Linked DNA regions of Homo sapiens: region 1 is linked to region 2. Evidence: promoter capture Hi-C in 16 types of primary human blood cells and fetal thymus (Javierre and others, 2016). All regions are on one chromosome and are shown on one strand. The core of a region is centred on a gene start or on the middle of the fragment in contact, and the rest is flanking DNA. Distances in the headings are between cores, read along the strand shown.

Region 1 (5,066 bases), core at 1,901-4,400, 240 kb after region 2:
CCCCAAACTGTAGATAGGCCATATAAATGAACATGAAAAAGGAGACTGGACAATTAAACTTTGTATTTTCTATTGGGTTATCTGTCTTTTTCTTACTGTTTTCCAGAAAGTTTAAAATACACACACACACATATGTGTATATATATAGACACATAAATATGCACACACATGTGTATATGCATATGTATATACAATAACTTTTTTTCCTAATTAAATATGCTACAAATATCTTATCCCTCCCCCCACACATTTTGTGAAATAATCACAGGCTAACAACTGAGAAATTCCATGTTATGAACAGGAGGGAGAATTCTCAGGCTTGGATCTAGATACCTGATAGGTGAGATCCTACAGAAATTTTTCTGTAAAAGCATGATTTCTCTATAGAGATGCAATTATTCTCAAAGGCCCAGTCTCTTCACCTTGTTTGATGACAACAAGTTTCAATTGCCTGTAAAAGTAACGGACTGAGGCATTAGTGGTTGACCCTCTTCTAATCTGAATGACCAACTTTCCTACAAGCTCCTGCCAACATGCCATGTGCAATCCCACCTCCATACCCGAGTTCAGATGGTTGCTTAGGAACTCCCCATTCAGCTCTGCTTATGTTATTACCAACAGCAACACTATAGTTCAAAAGAGGGTAGCAATTCTGAAGATGCTTTCTCACCCACTATCTCATTTAGCCTGCAAAACGCCCTAAGGAAGGTATGGCTGGTGCTATTGTCTTCACTTTGATGATAAGAAAATTGGCTCAGAGATACGTGGCTTATACCAGCTTCACCACTGGCAATTGGTAGAGTTTTGACTAGAAAGTAAGGTTGGAATCTTGGAATTCTGGGTTCCATCTACATTATTCCTTCAGAGCTTGGCTCACATCCCACATCCTCTGAGGATCTTCCCCTGCCCATAGGATTCTTTCTTGTCCCTGATGAGTTCTAATTATTATTTTCTAGACTATTCATTTGATAATGGCCACAAATGTCTTTGAACTATCATCTACCTAGACGTATGTCCTCTGTTCCACCACGTTATTTGTAAGTTGCTCCTGAAGCAGGAACAATATTGAATATCAACTGGTTTCTTCATCAACTTCACACCATGCCTTTTCTGCAGCTTGTGTCTAGTTAACATTGGCTGAGGCTGGGCTATCACTGTCGGCTGCGGCACTCAAAGAGCCAACTCTATCAAGACTGAAAACAAATATGCCCTGATCCATTCATGCTCTGTGGAATACTGGGAAAATTCCTGCTGGTAGTTACTGAACATTGAGTCATTAACCTTAAGGTGCATTACATCAGTAAACATATATGCAGGGGGCTTTACTTTGTGGAAGTAGGAATTACATCTTACAGTCTTATTTGTATTCTTCAGAGTGCCTTCCACATGGCAAGGACTCATTATGGAAGAGTGTAAGTGAGTTACACATTAAGTAAGACCTCCATTGAAATTTACTAACGTACTTGGTGACTTATTTTTTCAGAGTCTTGGTCAGGGAAGGCAAAAACTCAGTTTCACACCTCGGTTCCTCTTTTTAACAGTAGACAGGTAAGTTAACTTCTCAAAGCTTTGGTTTCCTCCACTGCAAAACTGAAGCACAAATAACTATATCATGGTGAATAAATGAAGGTAAAAGTATAAAATTTCTTTTTATACCACAAGTACTTTATAAAATATAAAAAAGGGTCAAACAAGATTTGGTTCTTTGTGAGTTTAAGCAAGTTAAACTGTAAAAATCGGGGTTTTTAATTGTGAAATGAGAGGATTGGTTTAGATTAGTTTTAAATTCTTTCAGCTTTTGGCTAAAGAGTCTATGACTCCGCAATTCCAGCTTCAATTGCCAAGGAATTTAATATTTTAATTTTCCACTCCCAATACATAAACCTCAACAAATGCTTTAATGCACAAAGGGAACATCCTATTTAGAATAATTCAATCATAATCCATTTTTGAAAGAATAATCTATCCTGATATAAATAACTGCCCTGATTTATGAATTTTCACATTCTTTTTTGAACATTTCAGGTAGGAAGTCCCTGTGCCTTTATTGCACTGCATTGAGCGGCAGGCCCTACGCACAAGGTCTCTCATTCATCAGACAATTCCTGCAGGGAGCAAGTGGGTGTTGTTATTAACCAAATGGGCATTTAGTCTCCATTTGACAGATTTCCTATGTGGAAGGGAAGAGCTCCTTGCAGTAACGTATACTCTGTGAATTGATGTCTTGCTGGCGACAGGACATCTCCTTCTGAGTAGTTTCTATAAATGAATACCCGTGTAATGTCAGCTTGAAATATGTCTGCTGTAGAGCTGGGAACTTGGAGGGCAGGAAGTTAAACAAGGAATGAAAATAAAAGCTAGGATTTGGATGGGACGAGCTTCACCTATCAGTCCTTGGACTTCCTATTTTTGCTCAGGCAGCTCAAGAGCCAAAATAAGAAGTCCAGGGAGAGCTAAGTGAAGAAAGAGCTAGTATAGAAATCTCAATGGTATGAAATACACATTCATTATGATGGGCACATTCACATACTTAATTTCATATTACCCTCACACTTTATCCTGTATATTGGGTTCAGTAAGACTAAATGACTTTCTTGAGGTCACACAATTGATAAGAACAGTTAGAATTTTCATCCAGCTTTTGATAGTACTCTTTTATACCTATTTACAGTCAGATAGAACACTTGTTTGAGGTGATTTCAACATAAAATATAAATATGTAGACATTGAGCCCTTAAATCTCAGGAGGCCCACATTTTCCTGCCTAAACTGAGGTATAGAGGCATAACAAAATATGTCCATAAGAATGATAAAATGGACTTTGGGGTCTCGATGGGGGAAGGTTGGGAGGGAGGTGAGGAATAAAAGACTATATATTGGGCACACTGCTCGGGTGATGGGCACATTAAAATCTCAGAAACCACCACTAAAGGACTTATCCATGTAACCAAAAACAACCTGTACCCCCAAAACTAATGAAATAAAAATTAAAACCATAAAAGAAATAAACATGCCCAGATACACATCTTAATATATACTGTAATGGTTATGATATATAGACTCTAGACTTTAATTTTTTTATAGAAATCTAAATGGCCTAGTGGTGAGGAAAGTTCCTGCTTGGGCTGGGCATAGAAAGAAGTTGGGAAAGAAAAAGAGGAGAAGGATAAAATGAAGTAAAGAAGGAGGAGCAGGATGAGGAGGGAAAAAAGTCAATTATATCAAGTAGGGAAAATGTGTACCTGAGATTGGAATGCACCCAGTGCTTGGATAGCTGCTTCCCAGGCTCTTCTCCAAATGCAGATACTCTTGAGCTCTGTAGATTTCAATGAGAAAGATTCCTATATGCAGTGGATCCTGGCCTGTAAAGGCTGTTCTTCCTGTGTGTTGCTGAATAGGCCTCATTGCTAAAGAAGAGGGGAGGGAGGGGGCTGAATGGGGGAGGTATAGGTTGTCTAGGCCTTGGGCTCAGAAGCTCCTGATCTTTTCAGGTGATGGCAACCATGTGCCAGAGAAAGCTATTCTCATGTTTCTCATGTTCCATAACTCCTTCTTTGCAATTTTTCCCAGAAGACTTATGATTTATCCTCCTCAGACAGAGGCTGCCCTGTACATAATGGAGCTTGATAATCTGAAAACTAAATTGACATTTTAAGCCAACTGAGTTAGCCAACCAAGATTTCTGGTTTTCATCTATAAGGTCAAAATTAATTTGTTGGGTTTTTTGGGGAGATTTTGAAATCATGATCTATTGTGGTGACTTAGATTAACTGTAGTTATAAACACCATCAAGGAGTTGATACGTGAGAAGTGAAATTAATCACCACTCCCTTCCCACACACACACATTTGCTCACACCATCTAGCACATGAAACAAGACCTGAAGGTGTACTAGCACTGTGCGTCACCGTGCTGTTCCTAAGAAGTAAATTTCCAGGCAGGCTTTTTTATTCTTGTAGCATCTAATTACAGAACACCGGAATGCAATGGAGACCCAGAGGTGAGCTGAATTATTGAAAAAGTAAAAGCAAAGACAGTCCAGAAAGCTATTATATATCTTCATAATAGATTCACCAAACTTAAGGGTGCTAAGAAATGCAAGCATTTAATTCAGAAAACAAATATATTTTTTCATAGCTCTAGGGAAAACTGCTTTTTTTCTCTAAACCTTCTGGAAGTTTTGGTAATTATGTTAGACAGAGACAAGAAACATAAAAGATAGTGTAGGCTCTCCGAAGGAAGTTGTATTTAGTCAGGTTAAAGTTGAAGTAATTCATCTATTAAAGCATTCCCATATTTCTGTATATAACAAGGTGTAATGTTTCCCCAATGATTTAGCAAAAGGGAATGGAAATTACAAAGGCACATGACTAGTGAGTAGGATAGGAATGTGGGTAGAGAAGGGAGAGTAAGGGGTTGGAAAGATTTAATCGTCAGCTACCTGACTCGATCTAGTGCCTTGTCCTTTAAATTACAACTTTCTCTCAAATATCATTTAAAATATTGAAACATCCTTTGTCTACCTCAGAAAGTCCAACTTTCAAACTCGCAGAACAAAAGAATAAAAAAGATACTGTGTGTTCAGTTGATAAAAATGAAGGTGAAATCTTTACACCAAGTTTAATAGTGAATGAAAAATTCTTACAATTAAAAACAGGATGAGGAAAATTTGGTACATTCATTTGTATGCTTCAATCTTCTGCTTTAAACCACGTCAAGAAACTAAAGCAAGAAAAGCTTAACTGTCCCATGTTGTTGTTCACTAAATATAAGATTATCTTTCTAAGTAAGACTTTCAACGTGCTGCTTTTTACATCTTCTAATAGCAGAAGTAACCGCTGTTCTTGGGGAAGAAAGAACTGAAACCAGTCAAACGTTAAAAGTCATGATGGCATTTAGGTGTGAGAGAAAGTTTATCCCTTAATTGCTTGCCTACTTCCCATTCACATTTAATATTGGGGGTAAAGTTTGTTGAGTATTTTCCAGAGAGCACTTTTCACTTCTTTGTTCCTAAGGCTGTATATCAAGGGATTCAGCATGGGAATCACCACTGTGTAAAACACAGA
Region 2 (4,900 bases), core at 1,761-4,260:
GTACAGATACAATAGTCCCCCCTTACCTTGTCCAAGGGGGATACAGTCCACGACTCCTGCAGTAGATGCCTGAAGCTGTGGATAGTACTGAACTCTATACATAGTAACAGATGGGTAGTGTATTCAATGTGGATATGCTGAACAAAGGGAGGGACGATTCATTTCCCAGGTGGGATAGAGCAGGATGGCTTGGAATTTCAACACTTTACTCCGGACAGGACACAATTTAAAACTTACAAATTGCTCATTTCTGGAATTTTCTATTTAATATTTTTATATTGCATTGACCGCGGGTAACTGCAACTGTGGAAAGTAAACCTGCAGGTAAGTGGAACCTACTATATTGGTTTCACTGTCAGGGTCTGTTTTCTGAGAACTCTCCCATTTATATAAAAAACAGAGATAATAGTCTTAATGAGCTTTTTGAAGATTGATAGAATATGTATTTCTGGCACACAGGAAGCACTTAATATTATCTATTACTAATAACTAGTATTTGAAAATATAAATTTGAGGCTGAATAATATCTTTTTACATAGTAATTGTTTAACCAATACTTTATTATAGGAGAAGTGGATTAATTTCTTTCTTTTCTTTTCTTTTCTTTTCTTTTCTTTTTTTTTTTGAGACCGAGGGAGTCTCGCTCTGTCCCCTAGGCTGGAGTGCAATGACGCAATCTCAGCTCACGGCAACCTCCGCCTCCTGGATTCAAGCGGTTCTCCTGCCTCAGCCCCTCAAGTAGCTGGGATTACAGGCACACGCCACCATGCCAGGCTAATTTTTGTACTTTTAGTAGAGATGGGGTTTCACCATGTTGGCCAGGCTGGTCTCAAACTCTTAACTTCATGATCTGCCCACCTCAGCCTCCCAAAGTCCTGGGATTATAGGCATGAGCCACCGCAACTGGCCTATTTTCATTTTTATGTATGATGCTATAATAAACAACAAATTTGTTCTGATTGTTCTCTGTTTGACCCTGGTTCTCTAGGTTTTTGTCTGCCTTTCCCTGTGCCCTAGGAGACTGACTTCTGTGGACTGATTCACCCAGTCTCCCCTCCCTTCTTGCTGCCAGTTGAGTTTGGTCCATGGAGACAGGGCAAGAAATGGAAGATTTTGAGCAAAGAGACGCTGGGGTATTTGCCTCCCTGTCTCTTCCTTGCATGGCCATAGTTCTGTCATAGTTTCTTTTTATTTCTGATGCCACAGTTTCTACCAAGTGGTTTATCTGCTTAGATCTAACTGTCACTGGACTCTGATAATGTTGCACCCTTCTTCTATGGCACACCTTTTAAGTCTAGGGCTGAGAAAGCTTCCTGCTATTGCTAGCGTGTTAGTGCTCTGCCACATTTTATTGGTTTCCTTACCTATAACCACTGCAGATAACCCTTTTTAAATATTTTTTTAGTTAAAAATCTATTGAGTGAGCTATCTCTTCTCAGCTGGTAACTGGACAAAGTATTATACTTGCCACTTTATATCACTTTATGCTCATGTAGTTCTTTCCAAGAAGAGAAATTACAGAGTCAAATTGTAGAAATATTTAAAAATCTTTGGCACACATAAACAGTATCCATATAATTTATACCATCTTTTAGATGAGTTTTAACACCAAATGATAGAAATCTCAGTTTCATACAGATTTGGTGGGCTGGAACCAAATACTTGCCTGATAGGCTGTCCCCTCGTCTTTCCTAGCTGTTCTGGGAAAGGCAGTTCCTGGTAAGAACTCTCCCTACGGCCCCTTTCATCTCACTGTTCCTCAGGGCATAGATAAGTGGGTTGAGCAGTGGGGTTCCCAATGTGTACACCAGTGAGATGAACCGATCTTGCTTGGGGTTGTAGCTGGAGCTGGGGCACAGGTACATGAAGGCACAGCAGCCATACTGCAGCAGCACCACAGTGAGGTGGGAAGAGCAGGTGGAGAAGGCCCGGTGGCGGCCAGCAGCCGAGTGGATCTTGAGCAGAGCAGCCACTATGAAGGTGTAGGAGGTGGTGATGAGGAAGAAAGGCACAGCAATGGCTAGTATGGCTGCCACCAGCACTGACTGCTCATGAATGTGACTCTGAGCACAAACAACATGCATGACTGGTGGCACATCACAAAAGAAGTGCTCAATGCCCTGAGCCTGGCAGAATGGCAGAGAGAAGATGAAGGCCACCAGTTGTAAGGACAGGAACAGACCACTGATGACTGATGCCACAACCAAGTGGACACAAAGAGTCAATGTCATGAGGAGAGGGTACTGCAACGGGTGGCAAATGGCCACATAGCGGTCATAGGCCATGGCAGCCAAGAGGAAGCAATCAGCACTGCCCAGTGCAATGAAGAAAGCCATCTGGGTGGCACAGCCCAGGAGAGTGATGGTCTTCTCTGACTGTAGGGTGTTGGCCAGGATATGGGGCACCACCACTGCAGTGTAGCATATTTCAATCCCAGAAAGGCTGCCCAGGAAATAGTACATGGATGTGCATAGACAGGTTTCTGTGTGAATGGACACCACAATGAGAATGTTCCCAGTGATGATCAAACCATAAACCAGGCTGACCCCAAGGAAGGACAGAATATGCAGTTCTGGGCAGGAGGGATAGGCCAGGAACACAAATTCCATCAACACTGAGTGATTTTCCCAGGTAATTGAGCTAACAGTATTTCTCTGTGGAGAGCTACAAGTACAGAAGGAAGAATCAGACTGAAGATAAATTAAGTTACACTCTGAGCCATGAATCTAATGTAATCAGCACTGGAGTTAGAAACTGGAAGGATCAAGACTAGTTCTTTTTCTTTTCTCCACTTTTACCAAGTTTCTCCACATTAATATCTACACCTCAATTTCTACCTGCCAAGAGTTGGGCCAAACTATGTAAGATACTATTGAAGAAAAATGGCAGAGGAAGTGGGTGGGATTCAGGAGCTATTTTCAGAAAGAGTGGAATGAAAATTCAATTCTTTCAGCAAATTCACAAGAAAGTGTCAAGGAATTCTTGGGGCTAGAAATCATTAAGGTAAGGGAGATAAGCCATTTATTCATTCACTTATTCATTCACATATTTATTAGGTTGGTGCAAAAGTAGTTGCGGTTTTGCCATTTTGATGGCAAAAACTGCAATTACTTTTGCACCAACCTAATATTTACACTCAATATCTCCTGGGGTATTGAATAAGTGATATGTCAATGTAACTCTCAAAACTAGTGATGGGAAGTGAAGAAAGAAAAAAAATTACCCATGAAGCAAAGGGCTAACAGAGGCCTGAGTATGACAGTGTCAGGGATACGCCTCAGAAAGCAAAGCCCTGTCTACTATTGGTTTTTCTATCCTTATCTGACCAGAAGTATAAGGCTTGAAGGAAACAAGGTGTTTTATCATATGTTTCCTCCTGGCGTGGGTGGAGGTATGAGAAAATATGTGATCCCAAGATGTTGGAAATCTAAGAAGCCTTCCTGTGAATTTGGGCATGATTATGAAAGTCTAAGCCCATCTATTTTTCATATTTCTCAGAAGCTAATGTGAAATCTGGGAGAAGCCATATCTTTTCCACAAAAACCTTTTAATAAACAGACGTAATTTGCAAAGGGCATCCATTCCACTTCTTTTCCCAGACCAACTCATATTAAATAAGGTGGAAAAGACGTAATGTGTGGCCTTGTTTCAACGTGCCAAATTTTAATATTTCCTGTCATTGAATATGAGATTTGAAGAGAAATCTCTACCCAGAGGCACCACTTCCAGTAAAAATTATTCACACAAACCCACCTCAGTGTCACAAGCATGGGGAAAAATATGAGTAGGCAGCTACAAATATTAAGAGCACCTAGGGCAGAAATGGCTCTCTGCTGTTTTTCCAACAGCTAACAAGTGGTATCTATTTCAGTTGGTCTCTTTTCCTGAGCTGAACTTCAATAATGCTTTGAGTGGTTTCTAATGCCACTTAGCATATTGCACATTATACTATATCATGTGGAGGAGGGGCAGTGTATCAATGTGAAATCAGCAGTGAAGGGAAGTGATGTGGTTTGAATAATTCCAGCTCCTGGCTTCATGATGTTAGGTAATATATAATTTCTCTAAGCCTCAATTTCTGTATTTGAAAAATGGGAATAATAATTATACTTAGACAAAAGAATTGCTGTAAGTTTAAATGCAATAGTAATGTAAGATATCACAATGAACTGTCCATAGTAATGGCAACCTAATAAAAGATAATCATCATTATTATTTATAAATTCAAGGGCAGCCATTCTGCTTTATTTACATTTTGATCATCCCATATAAGCACGCCTAATGTTGTGCAAATTTTAGACACTCAATAATTATATGTCGAATGGATAATACAGCTTGAAAATGTTATTTATACATTTTCTTCATTTTCTACTTTCACTTTGCCGTGCAATGAAAGATTTAAGATTATTCATAATCAAATCACTTGTTTAGGAGTCCTTATATAAAACAACTTCGTATCTAAGATTTGGGCTGCACTGTGGAAATAATTCTATCATTCAAGAACATAGCATATGGAAGTCTACAACAGGCACACATCTAAAGGCTAGTCTACCATCTATATTATTATACAGAGACAGTTTGAAATCTGTGTCACAATGACAACTTCTGAGAATTTTATTGTAGTCTATTACATTCATATCATCTTTTCAAAAAGTTATATTTTGTTTTTAATTGACAATAATAATTGTACAATGTGATGCTTTGATACATATACACATTGTGGAATGATCAAATCAGGCTAATCAGCATATCCGTCATGTCATATAGTTATCATCTGAATACTGCTCTCTATAATATTTGTAATCTGAACACTCCACCTATAATAAAATATTTAAAATATTTACATCAGAGCTATTATAAGTCATAAATTCTAACTGCAAGAAGGGACCTCAAAAATGGC

Evidence for each region. The method cuts DNA at HindIII sites, captures the fragments that hold promoters and counts their contacts. A CHiCAGO score of 5 or more calls a contact.
Region 1: a contact is called between a fragment that was not itself captured here and the fragment with the promoter of OR10W1 in region 2, in 1 of 17 cell types (endothelial precursors). The highest score is 5.8, in endothelial precursors.

The regions. Positions count from the first base shown.
Region 1 is chr11:58,502,227-58,507,292 of GRCh38, forward strand. It overlaps LOC105369313 (a long non-coding RNA gene), which reads right to left. Exons shown (of 5, transcript XR_007062673.1): 3 at 3,243-3,316. It overlaps OR5B21 (olfactory receptor family 5 subfamily B member 21), which reads right to left. Exons shown (of 1, transcript NM_001005218.3): 1 at 4,581-5,066. The coding sequence ends at 4,950. Among named protein-coding and RNA genes, the nearest start is that of OR5B21, 3.3 kb to the right of the region's middle. The HindIII fragment of the contact is 3,170 bases long and covers 1,566-4,735 here.
Region 2 is chr11:58,265,250-58,270,149 of GRCh38, forward strand. OR10W1 (olfactory receptor family 10 subfamily W member 1) reads right to left here and starts at 3,011. Exons shown (of 1, transcript NM_207374.3): 1 at 1,543-3,011. The coding sequence starts at 2,609. The coding sequence ends at 1,692. The HindIII fragment of the contact is 7,272 bases long and covers 1,308-4,900 here.